7 separate regions of the Homo sapiens genome follow, and all the other regions are linked to region 4. Evidence: promoter capture Hi-C in 16 types of primary human blood cells and fetal thymus (Javierre and others, 2016). All regions are on one chromosome and are shown on one strand. The core of a region is centred on a gene start or on the middle of the fragment in contact, and the rest is flanking DNA. Distances in the headings are between cores, read along the strand shown. Region 1 overlaps TNFRSF10B (TNF receptor superfamily member 10b). Region 2 overlaps RHOBTB2 (Rho related BTB domain containing 2). Region 3 holds the start of TNFRSF10B (TNF receptor superfamily member 10b). Region 4 holds the start of BIN3 (bridging integrator 3). Region 5 holds the start of RHOBTB2 (Rho related BTB domain containing 2). Region 6 holds the start of TNFRSF10D (TNF receptor superfamily member 10d). Region 7 has its middle 23 kb from the start of PEBP4.

Evidence for each region. Contacts are between HindIII fragments. The CHiCAGO score rates a contact against its expected background, and 5 or more counts as called.
Region 1: a contact is called between a fragment that was not itself captured here and the fragment with the promoter of BIN3 in region 4, in 1 of 17 cell types (M2 macrophages). The highest score is 5.0, in M2 macrophages.
Region 2: a contact is called between a fragment that was not itself captured here and the fragment with the promoter of BIN3 in region 4, in 9 of 17 cell types (naive B cells, total B cells, M1 macrophages and 6 more). The highest score is 7.4, in naive B cells.
Region 3: the fragment with the promoter of TNFRSF10B here is called in contact with the fragment with the promoter of BIN3 in region 4 in 13 of 17 cell types (neutrophils, monocytes, total B cells and 10 more); the score reaches 18.2 in neutrophils.
Region 5: a contact is called between the fragment with the promoter of RHOBTB2 here and the fragment with the promoter of BIN3 in region 4, in 4 of 17 cell types (fetal thymus, M2 macrophages, M0 macrophages and 1 more). The highest score is 8.7, in fetal thymus.
Region 6: a contact is called between the fragment with the promoter of TNFRSF10D here and the fragment with the promoter of BIN3 in region 4, in 2 of 17 cell types (naive CD8 T cells and fetal thymus). The highest score is 7.9, in naive CD8 T cells.
Region 7: a fragment that was not itself captured here is called in contact with the fragment with the promoter of BIN3 in region 4 in 1 of 17 cell types (M1 macrophages); the score reaches 5.6 in M1 macrophages.

Annotation. Positions count from the first base shown.
Region 1 is chr8:23,039,435-23,043,663 of GRCh38, reverse strand. It overlaps TNFRSF10B (TNF receptor superfamily member 10b), which reads left to right. Exons shown (of 9, transcript NM_003842.5): 2 at 421-526. Among named protein-coding and RNA genes, the nearest start is that of TNFRSF10B, 27 kb to the left of the region's middle. The HindIII fragment of the contact is 7,583 bases long and covers 1-4,229 here.
Region 2 is chr8:23,013,499-23,017,289 of GRCh38, reverse strand. It overlaps RHOBTB2 (Rho related BTB domain containing 2), which reads right to left. Exons shown (of 10, transcript NM_015178.3): 8 at 2,512-2,600; 9 at 1,547-1,652; 10 at 1-38. Among named protein-coding and RNA genes, the nearest start is that of RHOBTB2-AS1, 16 kb to the right of the region's middle. RefSeq lists enhancers at 2,648-2,697, 2,199-2,963. The HindIII fragment of the contact is 9,071 bases long and covers 1-3,791 here.
Region 3 is chr8:23,066,695-23,070,501 of GRCh38, reverse strand. It overlaps TNFRSF10B (TNF receptor superfamily member 10b), which reads left to right and starts at 1,471. Exons shown (of 9, transcript NM_003842.5): 1 at 1,471-1,751. The coding sequence starts at 1,608. It also overlaps the pseudogene TNFRSF10B-AS1. RefSeq lists enhancers at 1-266, 1,048-1,217, 1,238-1,287, 1,828-2,087, a cis regulatory region at 1,481-1,486 and promoters at 941-1,611, 379-3,807. The HindIII fragment of the contact is 4,380 bases long and covers 189-3,807 here.
Region 4 is chr8:22,666,534-22,670,408 of GRCh38, reverse strand. It overlaps BIN3 (bridging integrator 3), which reads left to right and starts at 1,288. Exons shown (of 9, transcript NM_018688.6): 1 at 1,288-1,365. The coding sequence starts at 1,358. RefSeq lists enhancers at 1,119-1,178, 936-1,565 and a silencer at 1,429-1,588. The HindIII fragment of the contact is 6,679 bases long and covers 1-2,493 here.
Region 5 is chr8:22,998,298-23,002,683 of GRCh38, reverse strand. RHOBTB2 (Rho related BTB domain containing 2) reads right to left here and starts at 3,136. Exons shown (of 10, transcript NM_015178.3): 1 at 2,579-3,136. It overlaps RHOBTB2-AS1 (RHOBTB2 antisense RNA 1), which reads left to right and starts at 2,879. Exons shown (of 2, transcript XR_007060857.1): 1 at 2,879-3,005. RefSeq lists silencers at 2,427-2,476, 2,807-2,976, 3,197-3,456. The HindIII fragment of the contact is 10,673 bases long and covers 1-4,386 here.
Region 6 is chr8:23,161,970-23,165,834 of GRCh38, reverse strand. It overlaps TNFRSF10D (TNF receptor superfamily member 10d), which reads left to right and starts at 1,808. Exons shown (of 9, transcript NM_003840.5): 1 at 1,808-2,049. The coding sequence starts at 1,900. RefSeq lists an enhancer at 1,951-2,070. The HindIII fragment of the contact is 1,686 bases long and covers 1,309-2,994 here.
Region 7 is chr8:22,949,089-22,953,133 of GRCh38, reverse strand. It overlaps a transcript of RHOBTB2 not described here. Among named protein-coding and RNA genes, the nearest start is that of PEBP4, 23 kb to the right of the region's middle. RefSeq lists enhancers at 1-370, 371-1,002. The HindIII fragment of the contact is 2,687 bases long and covers 1,041-3,727 here.

The sequences.
Region 1 (4,229 bases), core at 245-2,744, 370 kb before region 4:
CCCCATTTATAAAAATGTGTGTCTGTGTGTATGTCTGTGTGAGAGAGAATAAGAGAAAGAGAGAAAGAGAGAATAGGCATACCTATGGAAAAATAGTGGAACTAAATGAGACAAAATATTAATGGATGCTATCTTTAGCTGAGAATATCACGTGTGGTCTGTGTATTCTTGTAAAAACTTTCCTTGCCCACATTTTCTGGAATGAACATGTTTAGAAGAGTTTTGCAGGTGTATGTTACTTGGCCTTCCCTGAAATATGAAGGGACAAACAAACACTAAAGGATGTTTGAGAGGTGAGAGCTGCAAGAAAGATGAGGGTTCTGTTTAGCTTGGGTGCCTGGGCTCAAGAGAATGTGAGTGGATCCTGGGAGGGGTGAGGTCTGGAAGCCACTCATGCCCATCCCTGCTTTGTCCCCACAGGTCTCAGCTGAGTCTGCTCTGATCACCCAACAAGACCTAGCTCCCCAGCAGAGAGCGGCCCCACAACAAAAGAGGTCCAGCCCCTCAGAGGGATTGTGTCCACCTGGTATGTTCAAGATGGGTCTCTAATCCTTGCCCCTCCTCCCCTTGTCTCCATGAGCTTCCAGTCTGTTTCCTTTGCACTTCCTTGTTCTTTATTCCACAGAGAGGCATTGGGTGCCTCCAGTTCAAGGCTCTGTCCTTCTGGAGCCTTCCTGCTAGGATGGTATCAAGACACACAAATGAATGAGACAGCCAAAGAAACTGATAGGAACCTTGAGAGAGAATTGAGTGGGACAGAGATGGGGCTGGTGAGGCCTCCAGGCAATGGTGACTTTGGGCTGACATCCGGAGGAGGGCAGGGCCAGAGGTTCAGAGAGCCAGGAAGAGTGCTCCTAGGAGGGTTCCACTGGAACAATTGCCAGGGGGCAAGAGTTGGAGAAGATGGAGCAACAGCAGGGGGCTGCTGTGGGGAGTGGAGGGTTAGGAAGTTAGAGAGACACGTGGGGTCAGATCCCACACAGATGAAGCTGGATTTTATTTCATGAGTGATGGATGTCCCTGAGAAGTTTTCAGCAGAGGGCCACCAGCATCGGATGTACATCTTGAGTGCCCACTCCTGGACTGAACCGGAGCAAGACAGGAAGCAGGTGGAGGGCCTTGAGTGTGAGGCGCTCCCCTGGGATGTTATGTGGTGTCCCGTAAGGTCATTTGAGCCCCCAGAGATGCAGCAGGAACCTGGCCTGAAGTGTGCTTGACTGTTGTGTTCGCCTCGCACTTCTTCCCCCTTTTCCCCCATGTGTATGAGTTAGGAATTGATTGCTGCATGAAGGTTTCCAGGGCAGGCAAGTGTGGCAAGCAGTGGCTTTTAAAATCCATTTACAAAGTTGCATTTCTTTTCCATGACTAAGGGCCACAGGAAAGGCTTGCCTGAGGGCAAACCCTCACATTGCACATGTGGGCTTGCCAGGAGCAGAGCATGGAGAAGGAAGAACCCAGCGTGAAGCAGACACAAACTCATCTGTAAATGCTCCTATTGCTGTGGTCCAGGGTCAAGACCAGGAAGCAGGACGGGAATAGGAAGGACTCAAGACATATTTGGGGTGTGGATGGATGACGTGTGGGGAATGAGGACAATCGAGGCACCAAATTCAACTGCTCAGGGTAACTTGGCCTCTGAGGGGACAGTGTGTGGCAGGGCTAGCAGTACACATTTGGGGACCCTAGCACATAGGTGATGCTTGAAGCCGCTGTCTTGAGTGTGTCCACCTGGAAGAAGTTGTAAATACTGAGGAGGGGCACAACTGAGCCCATGAGGATTTGAAGTTGGAGACGATAGGCCAGGGAGACAGGACTGCAATGGGCTGAGCAGGAGCAGTTGGAGAACTTCCATCCTAGAGGAGAGATGGCCCTTCCAGCCACAGGGAGCAGGCCATAGCAAGTGTCAAGGACTGAGATGTGGAAACTCCTCGAAATGTGCATTTCTCTTCCTGTGAATGAGGTCAAGAATCTGTTCATGACACAGACACTGTTTGTACACTGGTTCTCCTAGGTTTTCTTCACTCCTAGTAAGAGGTTAGGTTTTTTTTTTTTTTTTTTTTAAATCATTGAGTCACATGAATTCTTACAGATTAGGGAAATTATACATTGATTGATTGATTGATTGACTGATTGAGATAGGATTTCACTCTGTTGCCCAGGCTGGAGTGCGGTGGCAGGATCATAGCTCACTGTAGCCTCAACCACTTGGGCTCAAGCGATCCTCTCACCTCGGCCTTCCAAAGTGTTGGGATTACAGGCGTGAGCCACTGCGCTGGGTCCAAAATTCTAATAAAAATTCCCATATAACGCCGGGCGCAGTGACTCACACCTGTAATCCCAGCACTTCGAGAGGCCAAGGTGGGCAAATCACTTGAGGCCAGGAGTTTGACACCAGCCTGACCAACATGGCGAAACCCTGTTTCTACTAAAAATACAAACATTAGCTGGGTATAGTGGCGTGCCTGTAGTCCCAGCTACTTGGGAGGCTGAGGCAGGAGAATCGCTTGAACCCGGGAGGCAGAGGTTGCAGTGAGCTGAGATCACGCCATTGCACTTCAGCCTGGGTGACAGAGTGAGACCCTGTCTCAAAAAAAAAAAACAACAAAAAAAAAATTATCATATATCTTTGCAGTCATTTTGTGGTTTCCTATTTTGTAATTAAGTCATTGAGCCACATGGACTTCATTTTGTAGTAAGAGGAGAGTGAGGAAGACACATTATTATTTGACAGCCACCTTTTTGGTTGCCCCAACACTATTATTAAATAATCACGTTTTTATCAGTGACATGAATCACTATGATTATGTATGATACTTACATTATTAAGTAAGGTTTGTGTAATTTGGATTTTTTAGAATGTCTTTCAATATTAATAAAAATAATTCAGGAATCTTGTGGCTAGCATATAGGTGATTATGGTCTATTTTTTGCGTTTGTTTTTACTCATTCTGCCACTCTCTGCCTTTTAATTGCAGAGTTTAAACTATTTTCAATTAACATAGTTATTGACAAGAAAAGATTTGTTTCTGCTCTTCAGTTATTTGTTTTCTTTATGTCTTATATATATTTTGTTCCTCCCTTATCACCTTTTGAAAAAACTTTAGTTTATTTCTTGGCATGTACCATTTTCACTCACTTCTTTTCTTTTCTGCATATTTTAAAATATATTTTCTGTTTTTCTTAAATATATATTTTGTGTATATATATTTAATAAATATATATTTTGTATATATATATTTAATAAATATATATTTTGTATATATATTTAATAAATATATATTTTGTATATATATTTATTAAATATATATTTTGTATATATTTAATAAATATATATTTTGTATATATATTTATTAAATATATATTATATATATTTAATAAATATATATTATATATATATTTAATAAATATATATTTAAATATATACTTAGTATATATCTTAAAGATACATATCTTAAATATATATATAGATATATATATATTTTTTGAGACAGGGTCTGCTCTGTCACCCAGGCTGGAGTGCAGTGGTGCGATCTCAGCTCACTGCAGCCTATGGCTGCTGGGTTTAAGCGATTTTCCTGCCTCAGCCTCCTGAGTACAGGGAGTAGCCACCATGCCTGGATAATTTTTGATTTTTAGCAGAGACAGGGTTTTACCATGTTGGTCAGGCTGTCTCAAACTCCTGACCTCAAGTGATCCACCTGCCTCGGCCTCCCAAAGTGTTGGGATTACAGGTATGAGCCACGCACCTAGCCTAAAACTTATTTTCTTACTGGTTTCCTTGAAGATTACAATTACCTTCTTAAGTATCTAAACAGGTAGTTTTATAATACCGGCAGAATTTCATTGCAATCCAAATACTGTGCTCCTGTACCACTCCATCTCTCCAGCTTTCTATTGTTGCTGTCATAGATCACATCCTTGCACGTTGTGTGACCACTGACGTCGATCTTAAGGACATGTATGTGTATGGAGCAAGGTTGACTTGTGATGGTTGATTTTATGTGTCAACTTGGTTACCCAGATACTTGGCCAAATATTATCCTAGATGTTTCTGTGAAGGTGTGTTTGTTGTTGTTGTTTTGTTGTTGGTTTTAGATGGGATTAACATTTAAATCAGTGGGCTTTGAGTCAAGCAGATTACCCCCTTAATGTTGGCAGGTCCCATCTAATCAGTTGAAAGCCTCAATAGAAAAAAGACTGACCTCCACCAAGAAAGAGGGTGTTCTGCC
Region 2 (3,791 bases), core at 185-2,684, 350 kb before region 4:
AGGTGGCCACCGATGCTTCTCGAAATACTCCTGGTTTTCTGGAGCAGAGAGCAGGCAGCTTGGTTAGAAAGGAGGCAGAGGGACAAGAGGAACGTGGGACACCAGCCCTACCCCACCACAAGGCCTGCAGCAGGCCTCCAGCCCAGCCCCCAGCACATCCCCATGACCCACGGCACATGAGCCTCCGAGGCAAGCAAAGTTCCCAAAGAGCAGGGCTGAAAGTCAGCACTGGGGAAGGCCTTTCCAGCTGGGTTCCTTTCCAAAGACGGGCGATCTAGACAAGGGCTTCCTGTGCGTTGGGAATGAAACAGAGGCGAAGGATAAGGGAGAAGGGGTAAGCGAATGTCAGCCAGGAGATACTCAGCATGGTTAGGGGATGAGAGTGGAAGTTTCTGGCCAGAGCTAAGGTTCCGAGGGGGAATACGGAGTCAGGACACAGCAGGACACAGCAGCAGACCAGAGGAACGGCTGGCCTTATTCTGCAGGGTATGGGGGGCCATGGAAGACTACTGTTTCAGTGGAAGGTCTGGAAGCAGGGAGTGATGCTATTGGACCTGTGCTTTAGAAAGAAAATGCTAGCCTGGGTGCAGTGGCTCATGCCTATAATCCTAGCACTTTGGGAGGCCGAGGCAGGCAAATTGCCTGAGGTCAGGAGTTTGAGACCAGCCTGGGCAACGTGGTGAAACCCCGTCTCTACTAAAATACAAAAAATTAGCCAGGCATGGTGGTGGGTACCTGTAATCCCAGCTACCCGGGAGGCTGAGGCATGAGAATCACTTGAACCCAGGAGGTGGAGGTTGCAGTGAGCCGAGATTGTGCCACTGTACTCCAGCCTGGGCAACAGAGCAAGACTGTCTCAAAAAAATAAATAAATAAATAATTTTTTTTTAAAAGTGTTGTAGTAGTGAAAAGGAGAGATCGGGGTGGAGACTTGGCAGCATGAGGCAAAAACACGGCAGCAGGGAGGAGGGTCACGGCAGACTGGAGGGAGCCCAGAGAGGACCCCATGGAAAGAGTGGCAGACCCTTCAGGGAGGCCAGGGACACCTCTCCCTGGAGCCTGTGCAGTTTCTGTTGAGTTCTAGGGCCTAAGAAATTAATCAAGAAGAGACAGGAGGCCTCAGAGGATGCCCAGACCTGGGTGGTCCAAGCTGTGGCCTGTACCCATTCCTGGGTTGTACCATCAATTTAGTGGGCCATGAGCAGCATTAGAAAGATGTATATATTTTCCTATATGTGTCCTGGGTCACAAGATGAAATGTATTTCTTACGGTATTCTGTCCAGAAAAGTCTGAAATCTACCAACTTTAGTCCAGTATCCTCTTCATACCTCTGAGAATGAGAAGCCCAGAGAGGCAGGGTGAGTTGCCCTCCAGGCCAGCACTTTTCCTGGGGCCCCTTGGCTTGGCTGGAGGCTCCTTTGCAGGCTGCTCCCAGCCCCAAGGTCAAGGATTACTGGCAGCCTCGGGGTCCCTGGGATTACATGGGAGCTGTGCACCCCTAAGGGGAGGGCAGCAGGTACTGCCAGGACTGGCCCCGATGCTCACCTGGGGACATGGCCTTCATGTCTCGGGGGAACTTGCGGCACACGTTGTTGTAGTTGGTGCAGATGTGGTGGAGACACCAGTCGGCCAGCTGGTACGCACAGTGGAACTGGGGACAGAAGGGAAGAACGTCTGTACTGAAATCCCCAGGGGAGAGGGTCTGCATAGACACCTCCAGCTGCCTTCAGAGCTGAAGCTCTGGTGCAGGGCACGCAGAGGCCCTGCAGTTCTAGAGAGCCTGCGCCAGAGGCAAGGCCACACAAAACTGAGGATGATGATGCTGCCTCAGGCTCCTTGGCACCACCGCCAGCACCACCATCATCTCACCTCTGTTCTGCCCACTCCTGGCATCCTCGCTGCAGACACCAGAGCCCTATGTAGTGGCTTCATACTGCATCTGCCCTCCTCAGATCTCAACCTACCTGACTTCTCTCTCCTCCACATCTGGGATCAAGGCAGCCTGCACGGAGGCACTGACAATGAGCTAAGGGAGCTGCCTTCCCAGGGGTGTCTGCAAGCCCTGCCTGAGCCGTGCTTCCACTCCACACACTAATCTTTGGTGGCTGAATTTCTGGCACTGTGAAGGCCACTGTGGGAGATTTGGCTTGTTTGTTTGGGATTAAGGGAGTAGGCGGTTAATTTCAGATGGAAAGTCCTCAGTGCCCCTTAAATGACCTCAGGCAGGCAGCAACCATGTGTAAGCCTGAGCCTGGGGTTCCCTCCCCAGCCCTACTGCTGCCTAAAGCCTCATCCCTTCCCCACTTGGTCAGCTCCCCTCCGGGTACACCAGGGAGTTCCCCAGCTGCTTCCTGGCATGGAGGAGGAGATGGGCTACGCGCAGTCAAAGAGCCCAGTCCGATGACAGGTTCTCCCGCATAGACCATCTTCCACCCCTTCCCATTCGCAGCCAATGGGCAGGCAGAGTGTAGAACTGAGACTGTTGTAGATTCCCTCCCCTGCCATGATACCTGAGCCAGTTCCAGGAACACAAGGACGTCCCCATCGATGTCCACCATCATCTGGGTCGCTTCCATCAGCCCGGTCACTGTGTACTGCTCTGTAACACACACGGCCACCAATCAGCTGAAGAAGCACATGACCTGTGCTCACCCTGCCCCACCACATCCCCCAGCTCACTTCAGGGTGAGGAAAACCAGGGCCCGGGCAGGTCCGGACAGGCCAGGAAAGGCCCCAGGCTATGACGTCTGCTGCCACCAGGGGGACCCCAGGGATGACAGCAAGAGCTCAACGGGGTAGGGTAGGAAGAGAAGGAGGACATTGGAATTACCTAAGAGGATTTTTCAAACTACGTATGTCCCGTGACATAATCTGATACAGGTAGGGTCAAAGTTCCCAACAGAACCAGCCTCTGATACAAAAGGGAGAGTGTGTGAAACCTCATGTCTGCTGATCACAGAAAAAGGCTGAGAACTGTGAGTTAGAACTAGGAGTTAAGTCTAGTTGTTTGTTTTAATTTAAATTTTGTAAAAAATTGTGTACTAACCTTGTATTTTAAGTTAAAACACTTATATTGAAGAAGTAAACACCCTTGGTTCTGAATTTTAATTAGAAGTATCAGTATAAACTCATGAGGTATCTTATCTTTAAAAAGATCAATATATTTCCCAGCTCTGCCCCCAGAAAAGACCTAGAAACAACAGTCATCCCAGTACAATGAGCATTCCTAGTGCACACAAATACCAGTTCCACTTCCAACACAAGAAACTAGGACTTCCTGGAGAAATGGCTGATTCCAGGTCTGGGGCACAGAACCTTCAAGAGGAACCTAGAACATCTCATCATTCCAGATAGAGAGGAAGCTCGTAAGACTCTGGAGTCAAGCCAAAGAGTGCAGGATTTGAGCTTCAGCAAGGATAACTGCAATTAACTGAAACCAATCAAGAATGTTCAAATCTAAGGGGCCATAATAATACTTCAAAAACAAACAACTGGCCGGGCACGGTGGCTCACGCCTATACTCCCAGCACTTTGGGAGGCCAAGGCGGGTGGATCACTTGAGGCCAGGAGTTCAAGACCAGCCTGGCCAACATGGTGAAACCCTGTCTCTACTAAAAATACAAAAATTAGCCGGGTGTGTTGGTACGTGCCTGTAATCCCAGCTACTCGGGCGACTGAGGCATGAGAATCTCCTGAACCTGGGAGGTGAAAGTTTCAGTGAGCCGAGATCACATCACTATACTCCAGCCCAGGTGACAGTAAGACTCCATCTCCAAAAATAAAAAATAAA
Region 3 (3,807 bases), core at 222-2,721, 400 kb before region 4:
ACTCTGTATCTAGCTAATCTGGTGGGGAAGTGGAGAACATTTGTGTCTAGCTCAGGGATTGTAAACCACCAATCAGCGCCCTGTCAAAACAGACCACTCCGCTCTACCAATCAGCAGGGTGTGGGTGGGGCCAGATAAGAGAATAAAAGCAGGCTGCCAGAGCCAGCAGTGGTAACACTGTGGAAGCTTCCTTCTTTCCCTCTGCAATAAATCTTGCTACTGCTCACTCTTTGGGTCCACACTGCCTTTATGAGCTGTAACACTCACCTTGAAGGTCTGCAGCTTCACTCTTGAAGCCAGCGAGACCACGAGCCCACCAGGAGGAAAGAACAACTCCAGACCCACTGCCTTAAGAGCTGTAACACTCACTGGGAAGGTCTGCAGCTTCACTCCTGAGCCAGTGAGACCACGAACCCACCAGAAGGAAGAAACTCCGAACACATCCGAACATCAGAAGGAACAAACTCCAGACACGCCGCCTTTAAGAACTGTAACACTCACCGCGAGGGTCCGAGGCTTCATTCTTGAAGGCAGTGAGACCAAGAACCCACCAATTCCGGACACAGTACCATGAAGGAATGAAAATACATAACAATGTGATGTATCATGTTTTATTTCCTAGACTAGTGACAAATGAAAGCTAAGTGTAGCAAGGGTGCAGGGACACAGGCACATTTGTGGACTAGGTGTGAGTGTAAGCTGGGTTCGATGGTCTTTTGGCCAACATAGTGAACCCCTGTGTCTACTAAAAATACAAAAATTAGCCAGGCGTGGTGGTGCAGGCCTGTAGTCCCAGCTACATGGGAGGCTGAGGTGGGAGTATCGCTTGAACCTGGGAGACGGAAGTTGCAGTGAGCCGGGATCACACCACCGCTCACCAATCTGAGCCACAGAGAGACTGTCTCAAAAAATAAACCACAAGGAAGGGAGGTAGGGGGAGGGGGAGGGAGGGAGGAAAGAGAAAGAGAGAAAGGAAGGAAAGAGAAAGCAGGAAGGACGGAAAGAAGACGAAAGAACGAAAGAAAACGAAAGAAAAAAGGAAAGAAGAGAGAAGGAGAGAACAGAAGGGGCAGGTGCCCCTGGGAAGGGGAGAAGATCAAGACGCGCCTGGAAAGCGGACTCTGAACCTCAAGACCCTGTTCACAGCCAAGCGCGCGACCCCGGGAGGCGTCAACTCCCCAAGTGCCTCCCTCAACTCATTTCCCCCAAGTTTCGGTGCCTGTCCTGGCGCGGACAGGACCCAGAAACAAACCACAGCCCGGGGCGCAGCCGCCAGGGCGAAGGTTAGTTCCGGTCCCTTCCCCTCCCCTCCCCACTTGGACGCGCTTGCGGAGGATTGCGTTGACGAGACTCTTATTTATTGTCACCAACCTGTGGTGGAATTTGCAGTTGCACATTGGATCTGATTCGCCCCGCCCCGAATGACGCCTGCCCGGAGGCAGTGAAAGTACAGCCGCGCCGCCCCAAGTCAGCCTGGACACATAAATCAGCACGCGGCCGGAGAACCCCGCAATCTCTGCGCCCACAAAATACACCGACGATGCCCGATCTACTTTAAGGGCTGAAACCCACGGGCCTGAGAGACTATAAGAGCGTTCCCTACCGCCATGGAACAACGGGGACAGAACGCCCCGGCCGCTTCGGGGGCCCGGAAAAGGCACGGCCCAGGACCCAGGGAGGCGCGGGGAGCCAGGCCTGGGCCCCGGGTCCCCAAGACCCTTGTGCTCGTTGTCGCCGCGGTCCTGCTGTTGGTGAGTCCCCGCCGCGGTCCCTGGCTGGGGAAGAGCGTGCCTGGCGCCTGGAGAGGGCAGGGAGAGAGGGGGACACGGCGGGGGTGCGTGGCCCGGGTCGCCTGCGGCCGGGCATGTCCGGGCAAGACGCACCAGTCGTCGGAGTCGGGGGAAGAGATGGGTCCCCGGGTTGGGCAGGAGCGACCTGGGCCGCCAGGGAACAGAGCGCGCGCTCCACTTGGTGTAAATTCCCGAATCCAGTGGGGGAGGGCGACAAGGAGGGAATTCCCGAGTAAGCTGCGTGAAGCCACGGAGAGGTCGTCGGACTTTGATTTTGTTTTCTTTCCTTACTTTCTGTTTCTTTCTCTTTTTCTCTTTCTTCCTTTCTTTCCCTCCCTTCCTTCCTCGCTCAGTTCCTGCCTTAATTTCTTTTTCTTTTGCGCCTTCGAATGAATTCCTAAAGGCGCTCATTGCAGATCGCTTTGAACCTGCGGCCGGCGAAGAACTCCCCTGTGGTCGCTGCGGCCCAGTGGTTCCGTTCCGTGCGCGGGAGTCGTCGCGGGCGCAGCTGGAGAGGCCCCTTCCCCTCCTTAGCGGCTGCGCCCCTACGCGTGCGGGGCCGCTCATCGCCAATGCCATTGTTTGGGGTTCCTTGGGAAAACGAGATTTAGGAGAAGGGAGTTGTGGCACTTGGGGCCTGACCTGCTTGATAATAGCAGCTGCATTTTGGCCTGGGAAGAGCCTTTCTTGCCACCTCTTGGCAAGTATCCGTGATAATGGGGAAGGGACAAAGAGTCGGCTTTGTAGGGAACAGCATGGTGTGCTCAGCGCCTGGAACTGCGCTTGGGGCCAGGAGAGGTTCTGAATCATCACATTTTACAGAGGAAGAGACCGCAGCTCAGAGTGGGGAAGTGTGTGGGCCTAGACCTAACTCAAGACTGTACAGAGGGGCTGGAAGGGAGAGGAGGAACAGTGAAAGGAAGGTCAAGAGAATGCTGGTGTTGACCTAGAAGAATGTCAGTGTGAAGCATTGGAGTTTCATGGGATATTGTTACACACCTCATGTTTTCACTGTTTCCGCCCCACACCACAGTATGTCCTTGGTCTCACCTCTGAGTGGAGGGAGGACCTAACTGTCCTAGTGAGGAGAGTGTACAGGGGCCTCTGCCTCCCCCTCCTGCTGTGGTTTCTGTGGGCCTAGGTCCCCAGGGCATCTTGCCTCTCTTTGGGTGGTGGATCTTTGGTCTCTGGCTGCTTTTAAAGATTTTTCTTAGCACTGGTTTGCAGTGATTTGGTTTGTTTGCTCTGTTGTGGGGTTTTTTTTTTATCTCTATAAAGAATTTTTTGGATTTTTGGCTTTAGACTTTCATGTTCTTTCTACTTGGAAGATTTTTCTGTAAAGAAAGCCACAACTGGGTTGTGTTGAATTTCTTGGATTTGGGGTTTTAGAGTTTATGTTCTCCTTGGAGACTTTTCTGTAAAGAAAGCCACAACAGCCGGGTCTGGTAGCTCATGCCTGTAATCCCAGCACTTTGGGAGGCCGAGGCGGGCAGATCACATGAGGTCAGGGATTCGAGACCAGCCTGACCAACATGGTGAAACCCCGTCTCTACTAAAAATACAAAATTAGCTGGGTGTGGTGGTGGGCACCTGCAATCCCAGCTACTTGGGAGGTTGAGGCAGGAGAATCACTTGAACCTGGGAGGCAGAAGTTGCAGTGAGCAGAGATGGCGCCACTGCACTCCAGCCTGGGAGACAAGAGCAAGACTCCAACTCAAAAAAAAGAAAGAAAGAAAGCCACAACAGAGTTATGTTGAATTTCTTGGATTTGGGGTTTTAGAGTTTATGTTTTTGTTTGTTTGTTTGTTTGTTTTGAGATGGAGTCTTGCCTCTGTCGCCTAGGCTGGAGTGCAGTGGTGGGATCTCAGCTCACTGCAACCTCTGCCTCCTGGGTTCACGCCATTCTCCTGCCTCAGCATCCCGTGTAGCTGGGACTACAGGCATGCACCACCACGCCCAGCGAACTTTTTGTATTTTTAGTAGAGACGGGGTTTCACCGTGTTAGCCAGGATGGTCT
Region 4 (3,875 bases), core at 39-2,538:
AAACAAATCATACACTACTTCTGCTCTAGGTCATTGGTCATATTTTTCCCGCTAGGTCATTGATTAGCAACCCCCTAAGCAGTCCCTGAAACAATCCCGGTCCATCTGAGGAAGGAGAATTCCTAGAGAGAAGGTCACTGGGGGCCCAGCAGCACCTGCACGGGCCTCACTGCCTTCTTGTCTCTCTTCCAAGGCAGGGAGGTACTTAGCGGTGAGGAAACCAAGTCGGCCCAGAATCCCAGGCAACTTGTGAGCCACTAAGGCCCTGAATTCTGACTTTGGGAGACCCGAGGCAAGTCAGCTGCTTGCTTGGTCCTGTCTGTGTCTTAGCCATGGTAAGTTCCCTCTGCCTGGAGCCTCGTCACCCCTCATCTCAGATTCACCTGGCTAGCCCCGATTCTGCCTTCAGGGCTTGGCTTACACACTGGCTCCTCCTGGAAGCCTTCCCCAAAACCCCATGTGCTACTTCAGGGTCCCCTTCTAGGCTGCCACCACACCTCATTCTATCCTATCCTATAGCATGATTATAATTGCCTGCTTGTCTCTCCCTCCAGGAAAGTAGCTCTGGGAAGGAACAAGAGCAGGGCAGATACTTCTCTGAGATAGCTGTATCCTAAGGTTGGCTCGGTACCTGACACTAATATTAGTGCAACTAGTATTAGTTAAATGAAGGAATAGAACGAATGGGGCAATTTACATCATTTGAGTCCTGTAGAGGAGACCAAAGGGAAGGGCTGAAAGGCAGGGAACAACTCATACTCTGCGTCTTATTGTGTTGAATAACTCTAGGAAACATTCCAACCTGAAAAGCACCTATCTATTGATATTCAGAGCCCTGTGCCATCTTGGAAGGGAAACGTCCGTTTGTTTGTAACAGGTAATGCATGTGTGGTGTACAAACTGTAAAAGATAGGAAAGAGCATTCAGAGAATGTAAGTTTTCCACTTTCTCCATCCCAAATGGCTTCTTCTCCCACAGACAATTGCTGCCACTGTCTCTGGATTAGAAACCACTTGACAGAGGGGACAGCCCGGCTAAGGGCCCTGCATGGTCAGGTGAAGAGATCTTTAGGAGTCAGTGTTGAAGGCAGAAAACGCCCCCAGAGGTTCCCCTCATCCCCCGTTGCAGCCTGTGTGTCTAAGCGCTTGGCCAGAGCCAGAGAGTCGCCGGCAAGGGAAACTCCGCGGCGAGCACGCAGCAGCAGAAGGGTTAACGCGCCGGGCTCCGCCTCCCAACCGCCTCTTCCGGGCAGAGAGGCGGGCTTACGTCACTTCCTGGAGACTGGTTGAATCCGGAAGTGACCCTAGAGAAACGAGTTGTGGCTGAGGACCCCGGCGGCAGACGCAGGTTCGGGACCATGAGCTGGTGAGTGAGGCCCAGGCGGCGGGAGCTGCTGGACCCGCGGACCCGCGAGGCCCCTGGCCCTGTGTCAGTGCCGCGTCCCGGCTCCCTCCGGTCCCGCGCGACCCCTCCGCCCCAGAGCAAGGCCCGACAGCCCCTGCCCTAGGGTCGTTCCCTCGGTGCTTTCCGGAGTCGCAGTCTCTCAGCAGGACTCCCGGGGAGAGTGGCGGATGATCCTCTTAGCCTGGGACTCCGCGTCTGACCCGTTTTGCCGGACTCGCGTCCTCCTAGCTCCTTGAAGTGAGGGACTTCCTTGTTCCCTCCTTTTTTAAACACCCATTGAGGTGGAGTCAGTGTCGTCTTTCTCTCCTGTGGGCATCTCTGCCCCGCGCCAGTCCCTCCAGAGCTGTGGCCCTCGCTGTGGCAGCCTGGACCCAGTTCACTAATCAAAACCCACTCCCTTCTGGGTAACTATCCTCTTTGCACGACTTAGCAGGCTTCAAAAGACAAGGAAAACTTGCTTCTCTTTTTAAAGGGGCCAGAATTACACTCCGCACACACCCTTCCACTGTGGGATTGGACTGGTTTTAATCATTCCAGAGCTATTACTCACTGCCTGCCCTCTAAATAGGCATGGTTAAGTTTAAACTTATGGGAACTATCATGCCATGAGAAAAGAAGCCAGGGAGTCTTAGAGTAATAGAGTCACAATTCCAGTTGCTGCAGTATGATGTGATACTTGGGTCATAGTAGACACTTCATAATGGTGTATTTATTTTGTAAGACTCAGTTTGCCCAAAAGGCAATCCCCATTTGTTGCTCTCGATTATTTATGTTCACAGGAGAGAATTGTGACTTGCCTGCCTTCCTGGGGCTTTCTTAGAGGTTAGAGAATACTCATATGCAGCACCTTACCTTACCGTCAGGCCCAAGGACCTATATAGCCACAACCCTGGACCTCAGGGGATTCAACTATAGTGTGTGAATAAATTGAGCCCCAGAGATGTACAAGATTAATCAGCCCATGGACATAGGGAACATATTTGCCACTCTGTCCTCAGAGGCTAGTGTGTTTGTTTATGCAAAGCGCATGATAACCAGTTATGAATGAATTAAGATAACAGAATGTCCTTCAGGAAGGCTTTTGAAGCTTAATTTTGGCCATCAGTGGAGAACGCAAGCAGCTGATATCAGTCAGTGTCAGGGATACTTCTCTAAAGTAAAATGCGAACCATCTGTCCCCTCCCCCACCTGTTTCTTAGACCAAGATTGATGGACAAATGTCAGACAATCACCGCAAGCACGGGAGGAAAGCCTGAAGCAATGTCCTAATAAGCCCCGGCAGGAGCTTCTGCTTTTCCCTCCACCATTTGCTCCAGGAGGCCAATAAGGGGCTGGAGCCTTAAAAAGCTACCTTCCCTGTCTTGTTATAACCTAGTTAGTGGTGGGCAAAGCGGCAATTCTTCAGTTCCCTTTCCCAGAGGAATTACGTCCTTTCAGTGTCATTCTGGGCCCCCCAGTCTTGCAATATAGATATCCTTTTGGCTGCTGCGTCTTGAATCTTTGGAGTGTTCTTACCTAATTTTTCAAAGTGAAAATGAGGCAGTACAGATGCTTTATATTGCCTAGATTGGCCTTTACTGAACCAATCTTTCCTTCACAAGTTGGGAGAAGAGCACAGCAGAAACTAATAAAGGTAAATGATTCTCTGGGTGATCCGAAGCAGGTTGTTTCCACCTGTCTCACAGAAAGTTTCCCTTCTGAAAAAATAGTAGCCCATTCCTTAAAGGTTATCCTGTCAGGTTGGAGAGAATTGAGATTGACAACTGTCTAACAAGAGCTGAGATTTTCATCTAGTAGCTTTAATTTACCAGTACATGCACATCTTGGTATCTCCTTGGACTGAGAGTCACAGCCAGAAGGGTGGCTTTGTCCCTCAAAGCTGAGATTCCTTTCTCTTCCCCCTTAAAGGGCTTCTACGTCATCTCTTGCGTGGACCCTGACCCTGTCTCTCAAAGACGGGAACAGCACCGGCGCCTGGGCACACAATCACACTCAGTTCCTAGCTCAATGGCTGGCAAGGAGACCGGGGCTGGGTCCTTCTGATTCACTCCCTGAGTGGTTTTCCTGCCCCCAGAATGAATCCATCCATTCATGTGAGACTGGAATTCTCATTAGGGGAAGAGACCAGAGTGACGTAGAGCCATCATGGGAGGCTGATGCCCAAGGTCAAGTTCACCAAGTACATGGGCTGTGCCAAGCCATCATTAAATAAGGCACATGGCCCATGGTCCCCAGAGGGTAACCATTGTTCTGGGCTAGGCTGAGCTTTCAAAATGTCACAGTGAGAAATGTCCAATATTGATGCCCTTTGCACACTGTGGACTTTGCATGAAGAGTGAGAGGCCTTTGTTCTCTGCTTCCTCTGTGCAGGCAACCCGCCCACCCCCTGTTTGTTTAGTGGGTACCTGCTGCCTTCCTGCACCATCTACCCATCCACTCCCCATACACCCATCTGCCTTTCAGAAAAGTGA
Region 5 (4,386 bases), core at 1,887-4,386, 330 kb before region 4:
AGTTTTGCGCTTGACACCCAGGCTGGAGTGCAGTGGCATGATCTCGGCTCACTGCAGCCTCTGCCTCCTGGGTTCAAGTGATTCTCCTGCCTCAGCCTCCCAGGTAGCTGGGATTACAGGTGTGTGCCACTATGCCGGCTAATTTTGTATTTTTAGTAGATACGGGGTTTCGCCATGTTGGTCAGGCTGGTCTTAAACTCCTGACCTCAAGTGATCTGCCCGCCTTGGCCTCCCAAAGTGCTGGGATTACAGGCGTGAGCCACCACACCTGGCCCAGAGAACTGTTAAGAACTGTTATTCTAACCACAGGCTTCCTCCTCCCAATTCTCTCTCCTGAACTGAGGACCGGGAACCCCACTTTGACAGTTCCTGATCTCAAGTTGAGGAATGTGCTGGCGCCAGGAGGCAGCATCTGGGCTGTGGTTTCTGTTTTGTCGAGTGAATACCAAAACAGATATAATCCCAAATACAAAATATGTGCAGCTGGAGGATAAAGATTAAAACCCAAGAGCCAAAAGAACTTCTTTCTCAAGTTCCGATTCTCCCAGCATGTAGGTCTGTAGACAGAAGCGGGGGAATGAGGAGGCCTAATGGAGGGATGCCAGTTCTCAAATTCAGGAGCACCTTGACAGTGAGAATAATGCCAGAACACCAGCAGAGCAGTGCTGGGCCAAGTTCAGCTACTTTGTGATGAAAACACTGCTGCCCACCTGTGCTATGTCACCTCTAGAGTTAAGCAGTGGTCAGCCAATCAACAAGTGGAAATTGACAAATACTGTGCCATGAGTTTAGACATCAGACCTTCTGGGTTGCGCAACCCCTTCCATCCATTCCCCAGCCCCTTCAGCAGTCCCCTTGTCCTTCAGCTGCCTCTCTGTTTGTATCATCTCACCCTTTCTACCCTGTCCCAACTGCCTGACTGGCAAACTTCACTGTCCTATCTAGGAAGAGGCAAGTCACTTATATTTTCTGGGCATCAGTCTCCCCCTCTGGGAAATGGGTATGAAGACATTGGAAGAGTCTCCTGAACCGTGGTTAATTTGTGCCAAGAGAGGCTGGGCTGAAAGGAGGTATTTGTCTTCTTATGTAATGTGGTATTATATAATGCTAGATTGCATATCTATATGTGTAATTATATCTGTCTTTAAGATACAGACTGGCCCAATTCAAGTGTTAGAACTCTTAGTCTAATCAGGCCTGTCTTAAAGGAGGATCCTGTCCTGGAGAGAGTGTGCCAAGAGTAATATAATTTTTGCCCTAGGATGTTGCTGATGTTGTATCATTGCTGATGTATGGTGATACAGCCCACTCATTGCTGATATATGGTGATACAGCCCATTCAGTGAGCCTCTCAGCTTCCCCTCTCCCTCCGGCTCTCTCTTCTTCCCTGACTCCAGACTCTCCCTCACAATTGCCTCATCCCCACTCAATCAACCTCCATAAACTATGACCTCCTCACCACCCAGCCCTGGGCATCACAACCCCCAACTCACTCCTCTTCCATGACAATCGCAAAGTCACTGGCATGTGTTCCTTCCATCCCTGTCCCATGATCCCTGTGCCCCTCCAAAAACAGCCTCCTGCCCACCGCTCTCCCAGCTCTTTGTACTTGGTGCAAGCCAAAACCCAAGGTGTGCTGAAATTAGCTACAAACCTCGTGCTCTCCCAGTCCCACCCCCACACCCCTACACACACTCTTTGCAGAGCTCAGAAAGGGCCCCTTTCCCTCCCACAGCTGATAGGAGGCTTGTTCATCTGTGGCTGCCCTAGTCTGGTTGTCAAGGAAACAACAGAATCTCCCTGGGAGCCTGGCTTGTCTCCTAGCAACCAGTATCCCACATCATCTTACAAAATGGGAATGGGAGGAAAATCCTGAAAATGAAGGTAAAATCAAGGGAGATGGATTGAATGGAGAATTGGAAGGAGAAGAACAAAGAGAGAGTGGACTCCTAATTCGGGGAGGCTCCCACGGGGGTCGCTGGCATTGCAAGAAGCCCCGTGCAGATCCAACAGAAAGCAAGGCCCAAAGGGACCCTGAATGGTCAGATTAAAGAAATGCAAGCCTAAACACAGATAAGCCCCCTCAAACCTAAAATGTGGACACATCACCAAACACCGCCAAAGATCTCCCCAGTAGTTTCACAGAACTCAGTTACATAGACTGCAATGGAGTTGAGTTCAAAGAACCAGCTCCGGAACCGCCAGCAAAACACCCCAATTCCACTGTTGTTTTGTGTTTGTTTTCTTAACAGAATCACTCCCACCACTCTGGACCGTTTTTCCTTTTTTCTGACACGCTACTCTGCACACACACAAAATAGAAATTTAAAAATTTTTAAACATCGAGAAGGGGGAGGGGCACGACAGGCCGAAGCAATCAAGTCATCTTCCTTTCCCTAGAAACACCGGAAAGGATTAGGCTCCAGCCCCGCTGTACCCAGCAGCCGAAGCCAGAGCCCAGGGACTAGCGGGGCCCGGGGAACGTAGCGAGGGGCGCGGCAGGGCAGGGAGGGCGGAGCGGCGCGTCTGCAAGGGCTGCTGGCCACCCCGCCATAACCGCAAGCAGCCATCTACTTACACCACTACATGTGACGGGGTGGCTTCTAGCGTGAGGAACACATCTCTTCCTGCTGAGCACGCTCATTTTAGTGAAATGTCAGGGGTCCCTCCGCGCCTGCAAGTTGGGACGACGCCGGCGCCGCCGCGCTGCTGCTGGGCTCCAGCCTCCCGGCCAGCTCGCGGCCACTCAGAAACTCCGGCAGGGCAGCCCAGGCCGGACGTGGGCCCAGGAGCGGACGCGCGCGCTGCACTGCAGCCGCTGCCCCTTCCGGATCAGCATCGCCCCGCGCGCCAGGCGCCCAATGTCACGGCGGCGCGCGGAGCCGGGCTGCGGAGGCAGCGGGCGGCGCGCAGGGGCGCCGGGAGAGGGGCGAGGCCGCCGCCGCTACGCGCCCGGGCCCGCGGCGAAGGCGCTGCCGCGAAGACGCCTGGCGCTGCAGTCCCAGGTACCGCTCGCGACCTCCTTTTTTCATTCACAAAAAAAGGATAGGGAAAAAAAAAAGAAAAGAAAAAAACGGGAGGGTAAAAAAAGGAGGAGAAAAAAATCGCACCCAAGACGACAGCCGTGACGGGCCCCGCCCACTGCCGCGCGCAGTTGGTGGAAAGCGTTCGGGGGGCGGGGAGGGGGCGGGCGGGGGAAGAAGGGGATTGGACGCCCCGCAGATCCCGCCTCGCAGCACCGCTCCCGCCCACCGCCCGCGCTCTTCCGCCCCTCCCGCAGCGACGCCGCGGGGAGGGTCTCGGCTCGCGGGTCTGGGTGGCGCCGGTCCCTCCACCTGGCGAGGCGCAAAGGCTCTCCGGACGCCCACGGGGTTTTCCCCTTTCCTTCGGGAGGCGGGGGAGAACCTCTGAGAGGCATCCTAGTGCACCCTGGAAGGGATGCTAGTTGGAGGAGAACGTGTGGTTGTAAGCCCAGGCCCCCACCACTTGCCCACGGGGAGGCGACGGCAGGGGCAGTCGGGGGGGCGGGGGGCGGGGGCCGGGTAGGGACGAATAACCGGCGTTTCCATACAAGCCCTCTGCTGCTTTGGGAATTTTCGTGGCACTTGAGAGCCTTCCTCCCTCCATGGCCCTTAATGAGTTGTGGGGTGGGTACCTGTACCACGTTACCTGTCTCCCACCTAGGCCTTCTTCAGCGGGTCCCCACCTCCATCCCATCCCCCTCCTGTTGCCTCCTGGAGTTCAGTAATAGCTGCTAATCTCTGAAAGAAACACCATGAAGTGAGTAGCCTCGAAAATCGTCCCTAAGCCTTCTTTGGGTTTTCTGCCTCAATTTACCCCTCTGTAAAATAGAGAGATTCTAAGGTATAACATCTATAACCTGAGGGGTCCCTAGAAGACACTTTCCATATTCAAGGCTGGTTTTATCAGGATAATCTTTTTTTTTTTTTTTTTTTTTTGAGTCTCCCTCTGTTGCCCAGGCTGGAGTGCAGTGGTGCAATCTTGGTTCACTGCAACCTCCGCCTCTTGGGTTCAAGCAGTTCTGCCTCAGCCTCCCGAGTAGCTGGGACTACAAGTGCACGCCACTATTCCCAGCTAATTTATGTATTTTTGGTAGAGACGGGGTTTCACCACCTTGGCCAGGCTGGTCTCGAACTCCTGACCTCGGGTGATCTGCCTGCCTTGGCCTCCCAAAGTACTAGGATTACAGGCGTGAGCCACCATGCCCAGCCAGGATGATCTTGACTGCTAGTGTTAAGTAGTCAGCTCAGTCTGGTTTGATTCATCTCCTCAGTTACCTCTGGACAATTTTTAAAGCCCAGACCAGCCTGCCACCCACCTGAACCGCCTCCACCACTCCTCCATCTTGTGCTCTGAAAATGCAAA
Region 6 (3,865 bases), core at 559-3,058, 490 kb before region 4:
CCTGGGTCCTGGCACACATTTCTGACCCTAGCTCAGTGTCTGGGGCCTGGCACACATTTCCGACCCTAGCTCAGTGCCTGGGGCCTGACACACATTTCTGACCCTAGCTCAGTGCCTGGGGCCTGACACACATTTCTGAGTCTAGCTCAGTGCCTGGAACCTGGCACACATTTCTGACCCTAGCTCAGTGCCTGGAACCTGGCGCACATTTCTGACCCTAGCTCAGTGCCTGGGGCCTGACACACATTTCTGACCCTAGCTCAGTGCCTGGGGCCTGACACACATTTCTGAGTCTAGCTCAGTGCCTGAAACCTGGCGCACATTTCTGACCCTAGCTCAGTGCCTGGGACCTGGCACACATTTTTTTTTCTTTTTTTTTTTTTTCACAGAGTCTCGCTCTGTCACCCAGACTGGAGTGCAGTGGCACGAATCTCGGCTCACTGCAACCTCCATTTCCTGGGTTCAAGCAATTCTCCTGCCTCAGCTTCCTGAGTAGCTGGGATTACAAGTGCCCGCCACCACGCCCAGCTAATTTTTGTATTTTTAGTAGAGATGGGGTTTAACTATGTTGGCCAGGCTGGTCTCGAACTCCTGACCTCTTGATTCGCCCACCTCAGCCTCTCAAAGTGCTGGGACTACAAGCGTGAGCAACCGCGCCCGGCCCTGGCTCACATTTCTGACCCTAGGTCATTGTCTGGGCCCTGGAAGGTGCTCAGGGTGATCCATCGCTCAAATCCAAGCCTGTGGAGAGGATGACATTTCATTCCCAGGTTTCTCATGAGCCAAAAAACCTTCATTTCTATAGCGCTATCCTCTTCTATCTACCATGTGAGGGGTCAGGAGCCGACTCATCCCAAGGGTCTAGGAGTCCTGCCATTGACCTTACTGCTTAGGGTCACAAGCTGGCACCCTTCAAAACCACACATTGGGTCTGCCCTCACAGCGGCAGTGTGTTCAACTGGATGGGGAGGTAAGTAGCCCAAGGTCAGACAGTTGGACCTGGGTAGACAATAGACTTGGGGACAGACTTTGGAAGGCACTCCCCTGATTCCCCTGTCTCCATGGGGCCTCAATACTAGAGCCCTCAAGGTTGGTCAGGGAGTGTTTGTGCTTTGACCATGCAAAGGGTGCCAGGTTGTGGCTAGGGATGCCCCCGGCGTTCCTCTCCCTCCTACCTACTCCTCAGCCTCTGCAGGTGCCTGTCATGGCCTCTGTGTCCTTCATTCTGTCCACTCATGTGTTCACTGGGCCCCTCCTTGGTGCCAGGCACCCGCTACTGAGGGATACCAAGCCCCTGCCAGAGAAGCTTGGAGCTGGGTCACAGCAGCAAGGAGGCTGGAGACATCAGTGGCATCAGTGCACTGGTCAGTGAGGCCGCTGTGGGAGGAGGGAGTGGGAGCAGAAGCTAAGAGTGGACTGAAGTCCTGAGGCCAGGAAGTAGTTCAGGGTTTAAGAAGAGGAGAGACAGGCGGCCCGGGGAGGGAGCAGGCTCAGGATGGGCCTCCAGTGCCTCCTCTGGAGCTCACTACCCAGACTACAGCAGCGCAGCGGGCAGCGCCTCAGCTCCTTCCCCTTCTGCTGCCTACAGCCTGGACAGGACCCGGAATCAAACCGCAGGCCCTGGGTCACCGCTGCCGGAAAGAGCCAGTTCCTGTCCGTCCATGCACCCACCCACACAACCTGGGCCCTCCTGGAGGTGCTGGGGGAGACCCAGCCTGAGTGCCTGGAAGTGACTGCGGGAAGGGAGTACAACTGACCACGCCTTTTTTCCGGGGTATAAAAGCGGAGGAGCACGTTCTATTCTGGCAGTGTAGCTGCGAGAACCTTTGCACGCGCACAAACTACGGGGACGATTTCTGATTGATTTTTGGCGCTTTCGATCCACCCTCCTCCCTTCTCATGGGACTTTGGGGACAAAGCGTCCCGACCGCCTCGAGCGCTCGAGCAGGGCGCTATCCAGGAGCCAGGACAGCGTCGGGAACCAGACCATGGCTCCTGGACCCCAAGATCCTTAAGTTCGTCGTCTTCATCGTCGCGGTTCTGCTGCCGGTGAGTCTCCGCCGCGGTCCCTGGCTGGGGAAGAGCGCACCTGGCGCCGGGAGTGGGCAGGGAGAGAGGGGGACACGGTGGGGATGCTTGGCCCGGGTCGCCTGCGGCCGGGCATGTCTGGGCAGGACGAACCCGCCGTCGGAGTCAGGGGAAGAGTGGGGTGCCCGGGCTGGGCAGGAGCGACCGGGCCGCGAGGGAGCAGAGCGCGCGCTCCCCCTGGCTGTCCCGTGCGGCGAGGACCGCACTGAGCTGCCCCAGAGGAAGTTCCAGAATCAGCGGAGGGAGGGAGTCAAGATGGAAACCCCGGAGTGAACCTCAGGAAGCCACAGAGCGGTTGCCTCTTTCGTTCGTTCGTTCGTTCGTTCGTTCATAACGTTAACCCAGGCCGGTCGCGGTGGCTCACGCCTGTAATCCCAGCACGTTGGGAGGCCGAGGCGGGCGGATCACCTGAGGTCAGGAGTTGGAGACCAGCCTAGCCACCATGGTGAAACCCCGTCTCTACTAAAAATACAAAAATTAGCCGGACGTGATGGCGGTCGCCTGTAATCCCAGCTACTCGGGAGGCTGAGGCAGAAGGAGAATCACTTGAATCCGGGAGGCGGAGGTTGCAGTGAGCCGAGATCGCGCCATCGCACTCCAGCCTGGTCAACAAGAGCGAGACTCCGTCTCAAAAAAAAAAAAAAAAAAAAAAAAAAAGTTAGCCAGGCGTGGCAGCCTGCGCCTGTAGTCCCAGCTACTCAGGAGGCTGAGGCAGGAGAACTGCTTGAACCCGGGAGGCAGAGGTTGCAGTGAGCCGAGATTGCACCACTGCACTCCAGCCTGGGCGACAGAGCGAGACTCTGCCTTAACAAAAACAGACAAACAAACAAACAAAATTAACCCTATGTTTACACTGTTACACGTGTTTCTTGGAGATCAGTTTAACAAACAGCCTGTGAAAAAGCTTTCCAACGCTGTTTTTTGTAACTTTCATTTCCTATAGAACCCTGAAAGTGGCAGGAAGCGGTTAACCAAGGTGCTTGCAGTCAGTGTCTTCCACTGCCACCCGTGTGTCCCCTCTGTATCCCATAGGCAGGACCGCGGGATGGCCCCTTCCTTAGGCATAAAAGATGTAAAGTTCTCGTTGTGAGTTGGGTTTGGAAACTGAGATTGGTAGTGGGGTGCACAAGAAGGACATAAAAATAAGATGTGCAGACTGCCAGGACTTTTTCTGAGTGACTGACGTTTCTGCCAACAGTGCTTTCTAAGGTTTCTTACGTAATACCAAAAAACAAAACGGGGAGGATAAAACAAGATTACATGAACCATGAGAGTCTCCATGTTTTCTTTCAACGAAGTAATACTAAATTCAGAACAGCAGTGACATTTTCACCTCTCAAAAATTACACAACTGACTTCTACAATAGTTTATAGTGGGTGGACCTACCTGAGGCAGCTAGAAGAATGGCTGTGTCAGGACAGTGGCCCTGAAGAGAGAATGTGTGGATGACCTGTGTAGACAAGACCAGCAACCTGAATTTCACAGTTTTGGGAATGTGAACTCTATGCGTCCCAAAGGAGGCTTTGATCCCTCCATCAATCTTGCCTTATTAAATGCATTTCAATGCACAGTTGCTTTTTAAAATTTTGGAGCTAGCACAAATCACATTAGATGTTTTATGGCAGTACATTCAGATTGATTTTCTTTTAAACAAGGGTATTGTATTTTACTACATGGGTAAGCCACAGGTTAATTCACTGTTGCCATCTAGAGGCAGCTGGTTATATCCCATCCCGATGGGATATAACCCAAAGCAAATTTGCCTTTGCTAATTCC
Region 7 (4,045 bases), core at 1,135-3,634, 280 kb before region 4:
ACGCCGCACATGTGGTTCCTCCTAAGTGCTGGCAGGCCACTGCGCAGGTGGACAGCCCACCCCAGGGGAAAAATCAGGGGAGAAGGGATGCAATTCCCCAGAAGCATGCCAATGTATAAGACCCCAAGTCAAAGGCCATACCAAGCACTTGATCTCTCAAGTAGCCCACTTGGTGCTCTTCCAAGTGCACTTTACTTCCTTTTGTTCCCGCTTGAAACTTTTTTTTTTGAACAGGAGTTTCACTCTTGTTGCCCAGGCTGGAGTGCAATGGTGCAATCTCGGCTCACTGCAATCTCCGCCTCCCGAGTTCAAGCAATTCTCCTGCCTCAGCCTCCCATGTAGCTGGGATTGCAGGCATGCGCCACTATGCCCGGCTAATTTTTCATATTTAATAGAGATGGGCTTTCACCACATTGGTCAGGCTGGTCTGGAACTCCTGACCTCAGGTGATCCACCTGCCTTCGGCCTCCCAAAGTGCTGGGATTACAAGCATGAGCCACCACACCCGGCCTCAAAAGCTTTGGAATACACTTTCACTCCTGCTGTAAAACTTGCCTTCCTCTGTCACTCTGCCTTATATCCTTCAGGTAAATTCCTTCTTCTAAGGAGGCAAGAATTGAGGTTGCTGCAGACCATTATGGATTCACTGCTGGTAACAGTATAAAGAAAGTGCCTTTATTCCAAGACTTAGCTTTGGGGAAGAAGTACAGACTCCTGCCTTTAAGGGTACTGCTTTACTTTTGGGGCAGAAATCAGGGGATTTTAAAGGGGGACTTGGCATGCATGCATGGCATGCAGAGGAGGGAGCGAGCAGGTGGGGGTCTGCATGACTCACTTTGGTGCCTTATCTACCAGGTGGTTCAGCTGGTGCCACCACAAGCAGAACTAGGTTGTACAATGGCCATTGTTTCAAGATACTCGCCAGGTGGGACAGAGTTGGGTCAAGGGCATACTTTAGGTGGCAAATTGACTGTTGTCTCTCCCAGTGGGTCAGCGTTCTGGCTATGGAGGTTCTAAGTAAGCACGTAGTTAGATAAGCTTGCCCTGTAGGGAATGCCTGGTGAAGGGAAGGTAAAGGTTGTAATTACATTTCTAAAGAGCTAAGTAGAGGCTCTTTAACCATGGTGGCTCGCTCCTGTAATCCCAGCACTTTGGGAGGCCGAGGCAGGCGGATCTCTTGAGGTCAAAAGTTTGAGACCAACTTGGCCAACATGGTAAAACCCTGTCTCTACTAAAAACACAAAAATTAGCCAGGCTTGGTGGCGCACACCTGTAATCCTAGCTACTCGGTGTCAGGCCTCTGAGCCCAAGCTAAGACATCATATCCCCTGTGACCTGCACGTATACATCCAGATGGCCTGAAGCAACTGAAGATCCACAAAAGAAGTGAAAATAGCCTTAACCGATGACATTCCACCATTGTGATTTGTTTCTGCCCCACCCTAACGGATCAATGTATTTTGTAATCTCCTCAACCCTTAAGGAGTTTCTTTGTAATCTCCCCCACTGTTAAGAAGGTTCTTTATAATTCTCCCCACCCTTGAAAACGTATTTTGTGAGATCCAACCCCTGCCCCCAAAACATTGCTCCTAACTCCACCGCCTATCCCAAAACCTATAAGAACTAATGATAATCCCACCACCCTTTGCTGACTCTCTTTTCGGATTCAGCCCGCCTGCACCCAGGTGAAATAAACAGCCTTGTTGCTCACACAAAGCCTGCTTGGTGGACTCTTTACATGGATGCGCGTGACACTCAGGAGGCTGAAGTTGGAGAATCGCTTGAACCCGGGAGAAGAAGGTTGCAGTGAGCTGAGATCGCGCCACTGCACTCCAGCCTGGGTGACAGAGTGAGACTCCATTTCAAAAAAAAAAAAAAAAAAAAAAAAAGAGCTAAGTAGAAAGTGGGAAACGGGGAAAAGGAGGAAAGAAAAAAGAAAGGAAAAAAAAATTTTTAAACCTTTTTGTCTTAGAAAAATGGGGTTGCTCAGTTACATCATGATAGGATAGGCTATGTTACAGTACTGATATCAGTTAAGAGGAAATTATTTGGGCAGATAGTAAGGGTAAGGAAGTCCTTGGTAAGGTTTTTCTTCTAATGAAAAACAGCCCCCAAATCATTTTCTTTTCTAACAAAGAGCAGCCTATAAAATAGAGCTGCAGACATAGACAAGTAAGCTAGAAACTTGCAGCGGTGAATGCCGGCAGTTGTGCCAATAGGAAAAGGCTACCTGGAGCTAGGCATGTTCCAAATGGCGGCTCCGTGTTCCCTTCTCTTTGCCACTCCTTACTTCCACGTGTACAGTAAGAAGCAGACAACACAGCACAGACCAAGTGGAAAGCCCTTTGCATAATAAGATTAGAATGGGGTAGCTAGCCTACCCTGCGTGTTATGTAAATTTCACAACTGGTCCAACCAATCTGTGGGCCCCATGTAAATCAGGCACCACCTCCTCAAGCCAGTCTATAATATCCAGTGCACTCAGGCACAGGCCAGAATTCCCGTTGAGACCCCTGTCTCTCTTGCAAGAGAGAGAGAGCTGTTCTCTTTTCTCTTTCTTTTGCCTATTAATCTTCCACTCCTAAGTTCTCTCCTGGTGTGTGTCTGTGTCCTTAACCTTCTTGGCTGAGACAACAAACCTCAGGTATTTACCCCAGACAATGACGCCACTTCAGTATCATTAAATGATACAACTTAAGAGAGATAATATTTTCACTAGATAGAGTGGGCCAACAGCAAGTTGCAGTGTTGCTGCCTGTCTTAGATAGGGGTGGGGAGAAACTGGAGGAGCTCAACCCTGAAGAGAGTGAAGAGCTCCAGTCTTCACCATTGCAGATAGGGGCACATGGTCTCCGTTGGCTGAGAGGGGCTGGCATTCTTCCAGCAGCCCCATGCTTCCAACATGAGCAACTGGGAGGGTTCTGGTGGGTCCTCCAGAAACACCTTCCTCCAAGGGACCCAGTGGGTGAAGCCATGGCATCATCTGTTTATAATTGAAGGCCTGTGGACTCTATTAATTTAGTAGGAAACCTGGTGACCAAAGGAAGAAGGTCTCGTTGTCAAGTGATATTTTCTTGGGAGGCCCAAGCCCCTCAAAAAAAGTTTTCCCAAGGACCCCTACCAATACCAAGACAGAGAAGCTGCCATCAAGAAATATATGACCTACTTGAGAAGGCAAGATCTGCACAGGTAGAAAGTCAAGTGCAGATGCCCCTTGACCTATGAAGGGGTTACATCCTGATAAGCCCATCATAAATGGAAACTATTATAAGTCGAAAATGCACCTAATACCCCTAACCAACTGAGCATCGCAGCTTAGCCTAGCCTACCTTAAATGTGCTCAGAACACCTACATCAGCCTACAGCTGGGCAGAATCATCTGGCACGAAGCCCATTTTATAACAAAGTGTTGACTCTCTCATGTAACTTACTGGATGCAGGACACAGCAGCATGTGGTATCAGGTTGTTCACCCACGTGATCGTCTGGCTGAATGGGAGCTGCACTCTCTGCACTGCCCAGCATCACGGGGCAGTATCCTACCACATACTGCTAGCCCAGGAAAAGATCGAAATTCACAATTTGAAGTATGGTTTCTGTTGAACGCATGTTGCCTTTGCACCATCATAAAATTGAAAAATCATAAATCAAATCATTGTAAGCGGGGGGATGTCTATAATGATGTCTCAGCCTGAGTGATGCTGGCCCAGGCGACCATTAGGAAAGCTTGAAGAAGGCACCGGGCCAGAGCTGGGCATTTTAGGTGGCGTGGGATTTGGTAGCCGGGTAACGGGGGTAGAGAGCATTCCCAAGGCAGGCCCCAGACAGAAGGGGAGGGAGCTAGAGGAGGCCCAGAGACAGGGCACTGGGGACAGCCTGATTGTTCAGAAATGTTATTACTCCCTAGCCAACCAGCTTAGGAAGTCCCCCCAAGGCCACTCATTTCAGAAACCTTTCCCAGTCACATCTATGGAAAAATACTCAGGCTGCACATATACCCAGGCTGGGCCCCAGGCCGGCCTTTGGGGAAGGCTCCTTCCCTCCAT